Regions from separate parts of the Homo sapiens genome. Here region 2 is linked to region 1. Evidence: promoter capture Hi-C in 16 types of primary human blood cells and fetal thymus (Javierre and others, 2016). All regions are on one chromosome and are shown on one strand. Each heading gives the region's core, a stretch centred on a gene start or on the middle of the fragment in contact. The rest is flanking DNA. Distances are from core to core; before and after follow the strand shown. Region 1 holds the start of KRT6B (keratin 6B). Region 2 holds the start of KRT71 (keratin 71).

The links. The method cuts DNA at HindIII sites, captures the fragments that hold promoters and counts their contacts. A CHiCAGO score of 5 or more calls a contact.
Region 2: the fragment with the promoter of KRT71 here is called in contact with the fragment with the promoter of KRT6B in region 1 in 4 of 17 cell types (neutrophils, M1 macrophages, erythroblasts and 1 more); the score reaches 5.7 in neutrophils.

Annotation. Positions count from the first base shown.
Region 1 is chr12:52,448,241-52,454,468 of GRCh38, forward strand. KRT6B (keratin 6B) reads right to left here and starts at 3,906. Exons shown (of 9, transcript NM_005555.4): 1 at 3,299-3,906; 2 at 2,166-2,380; 3 at 1,772-1,832; 4 at 1,518-1,613; 5 at 1,229-1,393; 6 at 602-727. The coding sequence starts at 3,838. The HindIII fragment of the contact is 8,192 bases long and covers 1-4,889 here.
Region 2 is chr12:52,550,267-52,556,494 of GRCh38, forward strand. KRT71 (keratin 71) reads right to left here and starts at 2,879. Exons shown (of 9, transcript NM_033448.3): 1 at 2,371-2,879. The coding sequence starts at 2,811. The HindIII fragment of the contact is 3,012 bases long and covers 53-3,064 here.

The DNA of each region.
Region 1 (6,228 bases), core at 2,656-5,155:
GATGCCACAGTGGACACAAGACCAAGGACATTAAGTGTTGGCTCCAAAGCAAAAAAACCAAAACCATTTTTGATGACCTTACATGGATGCCACAATAATTTGCAAACGTTGTCAACTGAGGTGATGAGTTTTCACATGAGGCTGTTGTGACCTTGCCTTCCTCCTGCCTCACATCCTCTCACCTGCTTGGGCCACGTTTTCCTTCCTCATAGCCCTGGTTTCACTTGCTTTTTCACCGTGAACCTTGAGCAGATTTGCAGCAATGTTACTGATGCTTTCTGACCTGACATCTTGCCCAACTTGGTCCTTTGCAATTCCAAAGTCAATCAGTCTTCTTACATAAGCCCTTCCAATGCCTCTAGACTATACTTTTACAGCTTTGACCAGCTGAGAGTGCTTCTGCCCAGGTGATTGTTTCATATCCTTGGGTGTGATCCATGTCTCTGAGCCAGAGTGTTCTCACTGAGCCTAGGAACTGCATGTCTTTCCTTCTCTGCTTATCAATCAATTCCCAAAGAATTTTACTAAATGATGGGTGACTACTGCCTCATGACCTAATAAAAAAAATGATGCTTTTCTCCTCCATTGCCCCTCACCATACCTGCTTCTTGACGTGGTCGATCTCAGATCTCAGCCTCTGGATCATGCGGTTGATCTCAGCAATCTCCTGCTTGGTGTTGCGCAGGTCGTCCCCATGTCTGCCTGCTGTGATCTGCAGCTCCTCGTACTGCAGCCCAGAGGTGGAGAGAGAGACAGTGTCTACGGGTTCTTACCTGGGAGCGATGACTTTCACTTGTGTATCATGAATGTCATGAAGTGGACCTAATGGCTTCTCCCCAAGAAACTTGAGGAAAAGTTGATGTTATGTGGTGGGTGGATACTAAACACTGGAGTCACAGACCATCCTTATTATGGCACCACTGCCTGCCTAGTTTTCTTAGGGAGTAGAAATGTTCTGTACCAATTTCTAAAAGTCAGCAACCAAGGTGAAGCTAAAAGCACAGATGACTATGTCCTTGTCTATCGTAGCTTGCCTCCTGCATTGGGTTGTTTTTCCTCCTTGACTTGGGCATAAGTTCCGCAAATGTCTACTCTAATAGTGCAGAGTGCATGTCCTGTGAGAGGACCCCAGCTTCCTGTCAGGGGATGTCCCCAGTGAAGTCTGCAGTCCTCTGGTATTCAGGGATGGACACAAGGATTCCTCAGCGGCTGTCCACTCCGTGCTCACCTTTGTCTGGTACCAGGACTCAGCCTCAGCCCTGCTCCTCTGAGCAATCTCCTCATATTGGGCCTTGACCTCAGCGATGATGCTGTCCAGGTCCAGGTTGCGGTTGTTGTCCATGGATAGCACCACGGATGTGTCTGAGATGTGGGTCTGCATCTGGGACAGCTCCTGCAGAACAGAAGGTCATAAGATCAACTTCACTTCTGACATTTACAGAGATGCCCAGCCCTGTACATCTTCTCCCCTTTGCAGACCCCATCAGAGTAAACAGAAGGATGGTGGAGTTGCTTACTGCATCATACAAGGCTCTCAGGAAGTTGATCTCATCTGTAAGAGTGTCTGCCTTGGCTTGCAGTTCAACCTTGTTCATGTAGGCAGCATCCACATCCTGGGGAAAGAGCCAACAACCTGGAGTTGCCTGAGCTCACCTTTCCAATCTACCCATCTTCTAGTCCTCCTGCCAATTCTCCTCTCCCAGGGGAGCGAGGACACAGAGCCACTTCTCTCCTTCTAAATGAATTTGAACCCCTGGCTTCATCTGCTCACCTTCTTCAGAGTCACAAATTCATTCTCTGCTGCTGTGCGCTTGTTGATTTCATCCTCATATCTACAGGAAGAAAGGCATGGGACACATTTGAGCCAGTGGGTAGGATGAAACAGAAAAGCAGCTTGGGATTCAACATTTTCCTGAATGGAATATATTCTAATTGAGCTTTCCTGCCACAGAGAGCCAAAGAGATGAATTTTGCTACTACTAAATTTGCCATTTCTTTAATCTCCCCATCCTCCCATAACCATCTGTGGTTCTTGCAGGTTTGCTCCTAGGGACTAATTTGTGCTTTTCATTTCCATGGACATGGGTTGTTAGGAATCCTACACACATCTGGCCCTGGTCACCCAATAGTCTTGAAGTGTGTGCTGCAGGAAATGGAGTCCTCACTTGTTCTTGAGGTCCTCCACCAGGTCCTGCATGTTTCTCAGCTCCGAGTCCAGACGACCCCGTTCCCCCACGATGTTGTCCAGCTGCCTCCTGAGGTTGTTGATGTACTGCTCGAACAACGGCTCCAGGTTCTGCCTCACAGTCTTGGTGCCCTGCTCCTGCAGCAGGGTCCACTTGGTGTCCAGAACCTTGTTCTGCTGCTCTAGGAACCGCACCTGGAGGGGAAGCAAAATGGTCATTTTCCAGGAAAAGGAAGGCAGAGAAAGTGTCTGGTATCCAGTTTCCTGGAGGTCTGGGAGGTCCCCATGGTGCTGGGCTACTACAGTGCATGTAGAGAGGCTCAGGCTGAGCTCTGCTCCCCCAACTCCTTCTCCTTTGCACCCCACCAGTCTCACTAGAGAAATTGTCCCACGGACCACTGAGGTGTTCTCGCACTGTAAGCTATTGATCATCAGTGAGTTTCAACATTTCTTCTTTTCTTTTTCCAAGCACAATCACAAATCTAGTTTAAAAATACTAATTACCTGATATATTGTACACAGTTTTTTTTACCGAGAGGATCTTAGTTAGGAGGGATATTAGATGTTGACTCATGATTACATTTCAGTCTACTTTCCCATTTAGTGTCTCCTCTCAAATATTCTGATGTTATGGTCATTCTCTGTTTTTAAAATTAATTAGCATTTATCCATGTTTTACAGTTGTTTCTATGTCCCTTTTTTTCTTAATCCAGCCAGATTATCTTTTCCTTTTCTTTCTAAATCTTTTTCCTCTTACCCAGACCCCAGAGTGTAATTTACCAGCCCATATACTCCTGGCATTTGCTTTGTAATCTCTTAAACACTTCAGAGGGGAGAATTAACCTACTCCACTCTCTGATGGCCTCATCTGTGCTTCAGGGTTATGAAAAGTTATGGCTCTCCCTAGGCAGGAGTGAGGGCCACTCCAGATATCCCATGGGGGAGTGATGCCCATCTGTGCTGCCTCCTGTGCACCGAGAGCCACCTGCACTCTCTGCAGAGCTGGGCTGAGTCCCCTTCTCCCTCCCTCCTAGGGTCTCTCCGGCAGGAAGGTGTTGCTCTTCTGGTCTGGGGACCCTGAAGTGCCCGATGGAGGGCATGGCACTGGCTCACCTTGTCGATGAAGGAGGCAAACTTGTTGTTGAGGGTCTTGATCTGCTCACGCTCCTCGGCCCGCACCCGCTGGATGGCGGGGTCAATTTGCAGGTTGAGGGGAGTCAGGAGACTCTGGTTGACAGTGACCTCTTGGATGCCTCCAGGGGGGCACACAGGGAAGCCAGGGCCCCCAAAGCCACCAGCAAGGCCGGCTCCACCACCCAGACCAAAGCCAATGCCGGCTCCACCACCGAAACCAAATCCACTCCCGGCGCCACCAAAGCCATAGCTGCCTCCGGCTCTGCTGCCATAGCCGCCACTGATGGCACAGCTGCCCCCTCCAATGGAGATCCTCTTGGAGCCCCCCAGGCCATACAGACTGCGGCTGCCAAAGCCAGCTCCTCCACATGCGCCACCCAGGCCACCACTGCCCCTGGAGCGGGACACGGAGATGCTGCTGAAGCCAGAGCGGCTGACCCCAGGGAGCCTGGCTGAGTTGGCACTGAAACCCCGGCGGCTGCTGCTGTGGCTCCTGATGGTGGTGGATGTGCTGGCCATGGTTCCAGGAGATGAGAGGGCTTAGGAGAGTGTGAGAGGCTGGAGGCGAGAGGGAGGAGAAGCAGGACGAGGAATCGGACTCCAGTAGCAGCTTATATATGGAGAGCATGGGCTGGGCCCAGTCCTGGAAGGTGAGCTTGCAGGTTGGGAAGGGCTGGGCTTTACAAATAGTGAGATCACACCTGCATTATTACAAAAGTTATGAAATACCGAGATTGCATTTTTCGCTTCCTTTAGTCAGGCAAAATGTTCCTGCCTCCAGCTTTGACTTGAGATCTCAGCACAATAAGAGTATTCTCAATTCATGAAGTTGGAATTAGTCACTGTCTTCAGCAAAGGTTCTGCATGCTAGGCTGTTTATCGACATGCCCTGAGTGCCCTCCTCTTCCCAGTCTGACTTTCTTCCAGCCTTGCTGTTGGAGATCACAGGCACTGTATTGTGAATTCCTTAACAGAAATATTACAATTTCCCCATAATTGTTTCACCTTTTAGGTGCAATTTTAAACAGGTAGAGAAGCAGAACACTGCAATGGGCCTGTATATACCTGTCACCTGCTTCCATGATGATCATCTCATGGCCAGCCTGATTTCTTTCATACTTCAACCCTATTTCCTCTTCCATTCTAGATTGTTTGAAAGGAAATTCCAGAAGTCATATTATGTCTTCAATCAATAATTCAATATTAATATCTAAATAATAGGTCCTTTAAAAAATCAAAACACTATTTTTATATCTTAAAAATTTACATACTAATTAAAATGAACAAGTGTCTATTTAGTCTTCAAGCAGTCCTATTTTTGATATATATTTCTTATATTTTGGTGTCCCAATCAGAGTCAAAATAAGCTCTATAAACGTTGTATTTGAGTGATATATCCTTTAAATCATTGAAATTTAAAAATCTCCCTTCATTTCTTACTTTTATTTGTTAAATAAAACAGGTTAACTGTTCATTGTACTTTTTCATTCTTGGGATTTTTCTAATTGCATACCCCTATTGTTTCCTTTAATATGAGACTCTAACCTTCATATTTCATATTAAAATTAGAAGCTTATTAAGATTCTGTCTATATTTAAACATTCTAGAAGTAAATGTAGTAGATTGCCCATTTAAATTTTGAATAGTACTATTTGCACAATTATTTACATGTTTACAAATTGAATACATGATACATGTTTTAAAAAATTTTTTGTAAAACATGCTAAACAACAAAATAATATAGCTCAAGGCCATTCCCCAGTTACCCAATTCCTATCTATGGAGGAAGTAATGTTAGCAGTTCCTTGTGTATCCTTGTATCTTTACTTGGATATTTTCCTGTGCTTTTCCTGGGCCATGGGTGACATGTCTGTGCATATGTGTTTGTGTCAACGTGTGTTTGTATGGGTGAGGAAGAGGTGGAGGGAGTTGGCATATATAGAGAGGGAGCCTGCATTGTAGAAAGGTATATAAATAAATACATGAATGTTTTGTGTGTATGTGTTTGAGTGTGTTTTATGTATATAAAATATTTCATGTATTCATATGTACAAAACATAAAAATATTGTCTTTTTCAATTGTGATTGTGTTGTGTCTGCTTTGTCTCCCACATCTATGTTTTCTGATTCTCTTTTTAACAGTCTCTAGTCTCTTTTTCATAGCTGTTTGCTTTTCCCAGTTATTCGAGGACATTTCTCCCAAATGTCCATTACTGTCTGTTTACCAATGTCTTTCCTCCTTATGCCGCTTTCAATTTGGGCTTCATTTCTTTTTTCTTTTCTTTTTTTTTTTTACACAGAGTCTTGCTCTGTCACCCAGGCTGGAGTGCAATGGCATGATCTCGGCTCACTGCAACCTCCGCCTCCCAGGTTCAAGTGATTCTCATGCCTCAGCCTCCCAAGTAGCTGGGACTACAGGTACCTGCCACCATGCCCGGCTAATTTTTGTATTTTTAGGAGAGATGGGGTTTTAGCATGTTGGCCGGGCTGATCTTGAACTCCTGACCTCGTGATCCACCCGCGTTGGCCTCCCAAAGTGCTGGGATTACAGGCGTGAGCCACCGCACCTGGCCAATTTGACCTTCATTTCTAAGCAGGACTTTGTTGTTATCTCTACCCCTTTTCTGTGCTCCACAAATGAATATTTTATCTTTTACCTGTCTCACTATATTTTGTCTTCTTTTTCCCACTTTATAGTGTTTATTTTTTAGTATTTTATTGTGCCTTTTTCTGTTGAGAGTTTTTATGAGTCTTTTTTTTTTTTTTGCCTATTTTTTTCAATTTTGAATGCACAGACCTTTTCTGAGTCCTGGCATGGTTCCTTTCTGACTAGTGCTTATTTTTAATGAGATGAGCCCCCTCTGGACCTGCGGTTTGTAGAAAGTATTATGGGTGGATGAGCCAGGGCC
Region 2 (6,228 bases), core at 1,629-4,128, 100 kb after region 1:
GCTGAACCCTTGCAGTAATAGTCACACGTGTCTCTCACAGGGCATTGTGTAAAGCTTCTATCTGCATTTTCTCCTCAATAGAGCTGAAAGAGGTGGGCAAATCATTACCCTCTGCTATGGAGAGAAAACTGAGACACAGAGCAACTTCGGCTGTTTCCAAGGCCCAACAGTTTAAGAAGCGGTGGAGCCCGGAACTGAATCTAGACACATGTCCCTGTAACCCGTGCATGCAATCACCCAGCACCCTCCATGGTTGCACCAACTCAGGGCTTGGCTGTGATTGAAAATACCAGCAGAGAAGCCAGGATGGGTCCACCATTTTGGACAGGTTGACCATCCTGAAGAAAAGTCTGCTCTTCATTTCAGGGCATGTCAGAGCTCAGTAAGGCTTGGGCCAAGGGCTTCTAGGTATTTTAAATGCCTGGAGCAGGCACCAGCTTCATCTTTGCTTATAGCCCCTCCTCTCCCTCCTTGGTCCTGCTCCCCAGAACCATCTTCTCTGCAACAAGCATGGCACATGGAACATGATGGACAGATGGAGCTCCTGATCCCATTGTAGCCCCTCACTGAGGCAGGAAACTGGCCAGAAGGAGATGTCCATACACACCTCTTGTTTGGTTTTTGGGGATGGGGAGCACAGTTTTTAAAATGTGACTTCCCTTAATCTACATGAGCACAGCTACTGCTTGAATAAGGTTGTCTTCCCCAACATCAGAAACACAAGACATGGGAAAACTATCTAAGATTCAGTGTCAAGATAGAATTATTCCCCGAAAATTTGTCTCTAGCCCGTCTTCCAGCATTTGGTCTGGTTTAACCAATCCTGAATTTTTCATGTGATCTACGAGGCTGAGCATTAACCACAGAGTAAATCCTGCATCTGAGACACCACAATACACACCTGCACTACTGAACACATCTGGATGCCGAAAGGATTTACCCGTCTTCTCTGGCTGCCTGAGGTTAAGGGACTGATCTCTGGAGACTGAAATTATTTGGGAACTGTCCAAGCCTTTCAGCCTCCTTCCCCTCCCTCTGGGCAGACCATCTTTATAAACAGGATGTGACCCTCCTCATGTTCATCTTTCTTCCCATGTCTCCAGACTTTATCCTTCTGTAGGTTTTGACCAGCCGAGCCAAGAATCAATCAGTCCACTCCCATCACCCAGACCCCATCTCAGAACACTTTGATCTTGCAGATATGAAAAGGCTTAGAAGAATAAGAAGCCGCAGAGCCAGTCCTAGCCCCTGAGGCTGAGCCGAGGGCAGCAGGGACTCCTCCAGGCAGGAAGTCTGAGCTGCAGGAGCTGGCTAAGCTCTGATGGCCACATGACCGTCTCACCCATAGACTTTGTCCTGGGTTGACCCGTCCTTGGTGCCTGACTGCCACAGAGCCAACAGAACCCTCCAGTCTCCTCCTCTGGGTCTGGAGGCAAAAGGCTGAGGGTCCAGCCTCACCCTTCCCTTTCCCCAAATGACCCTGGGAATGCCATTTACCTCCATGCCTTCAGTGACTCATACGATAGGGATAATCATTTCTTCTCTGCCAGAAGTCAGGGGCCTATCTGGACTGTGTCATCTCTTCAGGTCTCTAGACACCTTTGATTCCTCCCCTGAGCTTCCCTCCCCCACATTCCAGAGATAAGAAATGAGAGTCACAATCACAATCATTTTTGGAGTATTTAGTGTGCGTCAGGCTTGTGACAAGATCTTCACCTGCATTTTCTTTTATAAGCCTGACAACAACCCCAAGACAGAAGTTATTATCTCCATTTTAGAGATGAGGAGATGGCAACACAGACAGGCAGATCACCTTCCCAGAGCCACTCAGCTGTGGCCAGCAGTGAGCACAAGAGCACCGTGGAGTCCCCTTCCCCAGTGCCCTCTTCTGCCTCTCAAGAAAGTCTTCAACTGACTGGAGCAAATGCCCAATCAGAGGGCCTGAAGCGGCCCCTTCCTGCTGCTCCTGATCCGCTGGGCAAGTGACCAGTGGGCAGGGCAGCATGCCAGGGGAGGAGGACAGCTTCCCTGCTTACTCTGGGCGAGACTGGCTCTCACAGGCCTTTTCTGCACACGGCCTGCAGGCCTAGCAATGGCACCAAGCTAGCCCTCAAGAGGAAGGACCACATCTCTTGCTGGGAGCCCTGAGAAGCCTCTGCCAGTAGAAATTGACCTGCCTCTGTTTTCTCTCTGGAAAGACAACACAGAGAACCTTACACAGGTCACCCTGTTGATGGGATGTACCTACCTTGTCCACAGTAAAGTCTTCCTCACATCTAACCTCAATCTCTCCTGCTGTAACAAAATCGTATGTTCCAAGAAGAGAAGAGGAGGGCTGTTCACAAGTTCCCCAGGCCCTAGAAGACCCACCTTGTCGATGAAGGAGGCGAACTTGTTGTTCAGAGCCTTGATCTGCTCTCGCTCCTGGGCACGCACTTTCTGGATCTCGGGGTCCAGCTCCACGTTGAGGGGGGCCAGGAGGCTCTCATTGACGGTAACCTGGTGGATGCCTCCAGGTGGGCATACAGTTGGGCACACAGGCCCCAGGGCCACACTGCCAAACATGCTTCCAGCAAAGCCACTGGCCCGGCCCCGGCCAAATCCATAGCCTCCACTCTTCCCGCTGCCACTGGCCACATTGAGGCTCCGGACACCCCCCAGGCTGTAGAGGCTCCGGCTGCCAAAGCCCCCACTGAGCCCTTTGCTCCCTGCCCGGAAGGAGGATGAGCTGCCCCCTGAGAGCACAGCTGAGCAGCCACTGAAGCCCCCCTTGGCGGCAGCTCCCGACTTGCAGGTGAATTGGCGGCTCATGTTGCTGGTGGAGACAAAGCTCAGATGCAGGAGGGAGGAAGGCAAAATCCCAAAAGGTTCTGCTGGTTGTAGTGAGGACTGGCAGGTGCCTTTATATGTGCTTGGCACTGGGGCTTGTGGATGGGCAGTCAAGAGCTTAATTCGTGGGTTTGGCTTGCCTGGGAGCAAGAAGTCATTTTCTCTATGCTGAGCTAGAGATCAAGCCCTCTCCACCTCTGAAACAACATGAAACCTTCAAATTGCTGGGCTTGCAAGCTTTGCTCATGTAATTTGGGTCTTATCTAATTAACCTGCTGTTATAGGGTAATTTGCCCCAGGCCCTGGCCTCTCCAGGGGGATGTCACTGGCACTGCACCATCCCTATCCTGATTAATCTTCTCTGGGTTGTTGGCTTCCTCCTGGGGATGCAGCAGGTGAAGACAGGATGGACTTTCCTGGATAGTTCAGGACACTGGGTAGAGTACTGGGGCCTCCAACTTCTGTTCTCCTCCTTCCTGGAAAGGGACTGATCAGGCATTACCTCTCCCCAGGCCTCCTGGAAACATAACCCATAGAGGGCAGCTGCTCTCACTCATGGGGTATTAGGAGGTGGAGTGACCCTCTCGCTAGCATGGGACAGAAGCAGCCCAGGCCAGAGCCAACCACGGGCACTATCCTCACTTCTCCCCCCTCAAACACCCATAATAAAGCAGGCTGGAGGCTTCAAACACTGGAGAAAATGAGGACGAGAAAAGGAGGATGGAGTTGGGGCAGGTGGCTGAGAAATTCAGGGACTTGACTGGAAGGAGGTACAGAGAAGACAAAGACAGAGGCTGGCCCATGGCCTGGAGGGTTATGGAGATTCCTGGGTGGTCCACTTCCTCATTTCTGTCTCTCCTCCAATGTGTATCTGCTAATAAGACTAGGAACAACTTGAGGACAGTAATCATCTGTTTAGAGTTCAAATAAAGAAGCTGTTATCAACATGAAACTTAACTCCTATTGCCTCTGTCCAGGCCCAAGTGAGCCAAGAACAAGGCTGGCTGAGCCCTCCCCAGGAGTGCAAGCCTCCAGGCAGGCTCAGACCAGAAAGACCCAATGGGGGCGACCCAGTAAGCACGATGTCATTCTACTCCAAACAGTCCTTTGATGCCAGCCCCAGAGACTCTGGCTGCAGCCCCTGCTTCCTAGCCACTGGCTCCTGTGTTGGGCCCCAGCTACTCCCATGATCGCCATTGCCACTGTGGCCCTATTCAACCCAAGGCAGCTCTGTCCCTGAAGATCACCCTTGCCCAGAGATCCCTGCTGGAGCCCCATGGGTGAACAGCAGCTCTTTGCTGGGTGGGGCACAGGAGGGAAGAAAATCTGGAGACAGGCTGGTTTGGGGCTCTCTCTCATATTGTTTAGGGGAAGAGCCTGGACTCCAGTCCCTCCCAATCCTCTGCATTCCTTCCTCTACTCTTGCCCCTGCCATTTTGTCTTCTTTGCTCTTACTGAAACTACCCGAATTTTCCTATCCCTGCCTTCTCTCTTTCTCACCTTCTCTCTCCATCCCTCCTCATCCCTCCCATCCATCTTCCCTCCATCCTTCCCTCTCAGCCTTTCGCCATCTCTTGTTCTGTCACTTCCCCATCCTGCTCTCCTCCAGGAGGTCTTCCTGCACCCACACAGGCCAGGTCTGAGCTCTCCTTACCTCCCTCCGCTCTGAACACATCCTTAGCATGTGCTGGTGGGGCTGCAACTCTGTGACAGCTCCCATGGGGATCCTCTGAAGCCATGTCACATGTCATCTTAGTTTTTCTTTGTAAGGCTAGCAGAGTCTTCTCCAGATTAGAGACCACCTAGTGCACTCTGAGATGGAGCAGGGACGCCCTCGTAGGGGCCTTCAGGTCCCCTCAAGCATGGAAATAAAGGACAATCTTGAGTTCCTTCAAGGGAAATTCTGGGCACCTTGCTAGCCTGGAGAAATAAATAAGCAACCTGACAAGCAAGAAGATAACAGTAGCCCAAAACAACAGCCACGAAAGCTGGAATCGTGGGATGTTTGGTTCCGCCATAGAAACTAAAGATAGCACCTTAACATATGTCCCAGAGTTGTTTGTCAGAAACCCAAACCCCACCAAAAGGGATGCCTGGGCACATAGACCTCAGATGAAGGGACACTGGGCACTGAGCTCTGACCACCACTCTTTGTTCTAAATTTCTTCCTGAGGGGCCTGAAGAATGTCACACCTACAAGCCAGAGCTAACACTCTTTTCTGCTGACCCCAAATTTTTAAACAAAGTTTCTCTTCCTTAACCAATTGCAAATCATAAAATCTTTGAATCTGTTTATGACCTGTGAGCTCCCACTTAAAAACATCCTGACCAAACACCGCATGTTCTCACTCATAAGTGGGAGTTGAACATTGAGAACACATGGACACAGAGAGGGAAACAACACACACCAGGGCCTGTTGGGGGGTGAGGGGTGAGGGGAGGGAACTTAGAGGATGGGTCAATAGGTGCAGCAAACCACCATGGCACATGTGTACCTATGAAACAAACCTGCACGTTCTGTACAGGTATCCTACTTTTTTTAAGAAGAAATAAAGAAAAAAAAGAAAGACATCCTGCCCTTTTAGGCCAAAGCCAATGTGTAGCCTTCATGTATTGAATTTCGCCTGTAACTTCTGCTCTGCTGAAATTTACCCCGCCTTTAAAGCCTCTAATCTTCACACCATCAGGGAGGTTGGGACTTCAGCATTAGCTGCCTGGTCCCTCTTGCTTGGTGCCCTGCAAATAAACGCCTTCCTTTCCACTGCTGCAAACCTCGGTGTAGATATCTGGTCTTCCTGGGCCGGGCAAGTGGACTCCAGTTTGGTTCTAGAACCCTTGCCTCCCTCCCACCCTTCCTTTCTTCCTTTGGTGGACTTCTACTGAGTGCCTGCTGTATGCTGGCACCATGCTCAGTGCTGGGGACACAGGAGTTGGTGGTGTACACTGAAGATTTGAAGGTTTTCTAGAGCTCTTGCTTGTGGTCCTCCATCTCTGGCTCTGAAAGCTGCATTTCTTGACATGCATGGCAGAGCCCTAGCCCAGCCTTTAGTGTCCCTGCCGCTGCTGCAGCCACCCCAACCCATCCCACAACCTCCTTCCTCGATGCCCCAGCCAAGGACATCTCACCCACTGGCCCCATCTTCGACTACCTCCAAAATTTTGCCAAGCTATTCTTATTCAGCCTGGAACCCCTTATCTCCCGATCTCCTCTGACCCCAATCCCACTGCTCTTCTGAACTCCTGCTTAAAACCCTGGATTTTGCAGTCTCCCCTCCCCAGCGTCCCGACTCCTCCGTCCCTTGACACCCATGTGCAGGTTGCTGTTTCCTAGGGCCTGGGTCCTGGGTCCTGGGTCCTGGGGAGGGTCCCATGTCCCAGTCAATTCCTCCTTCTGTGCCT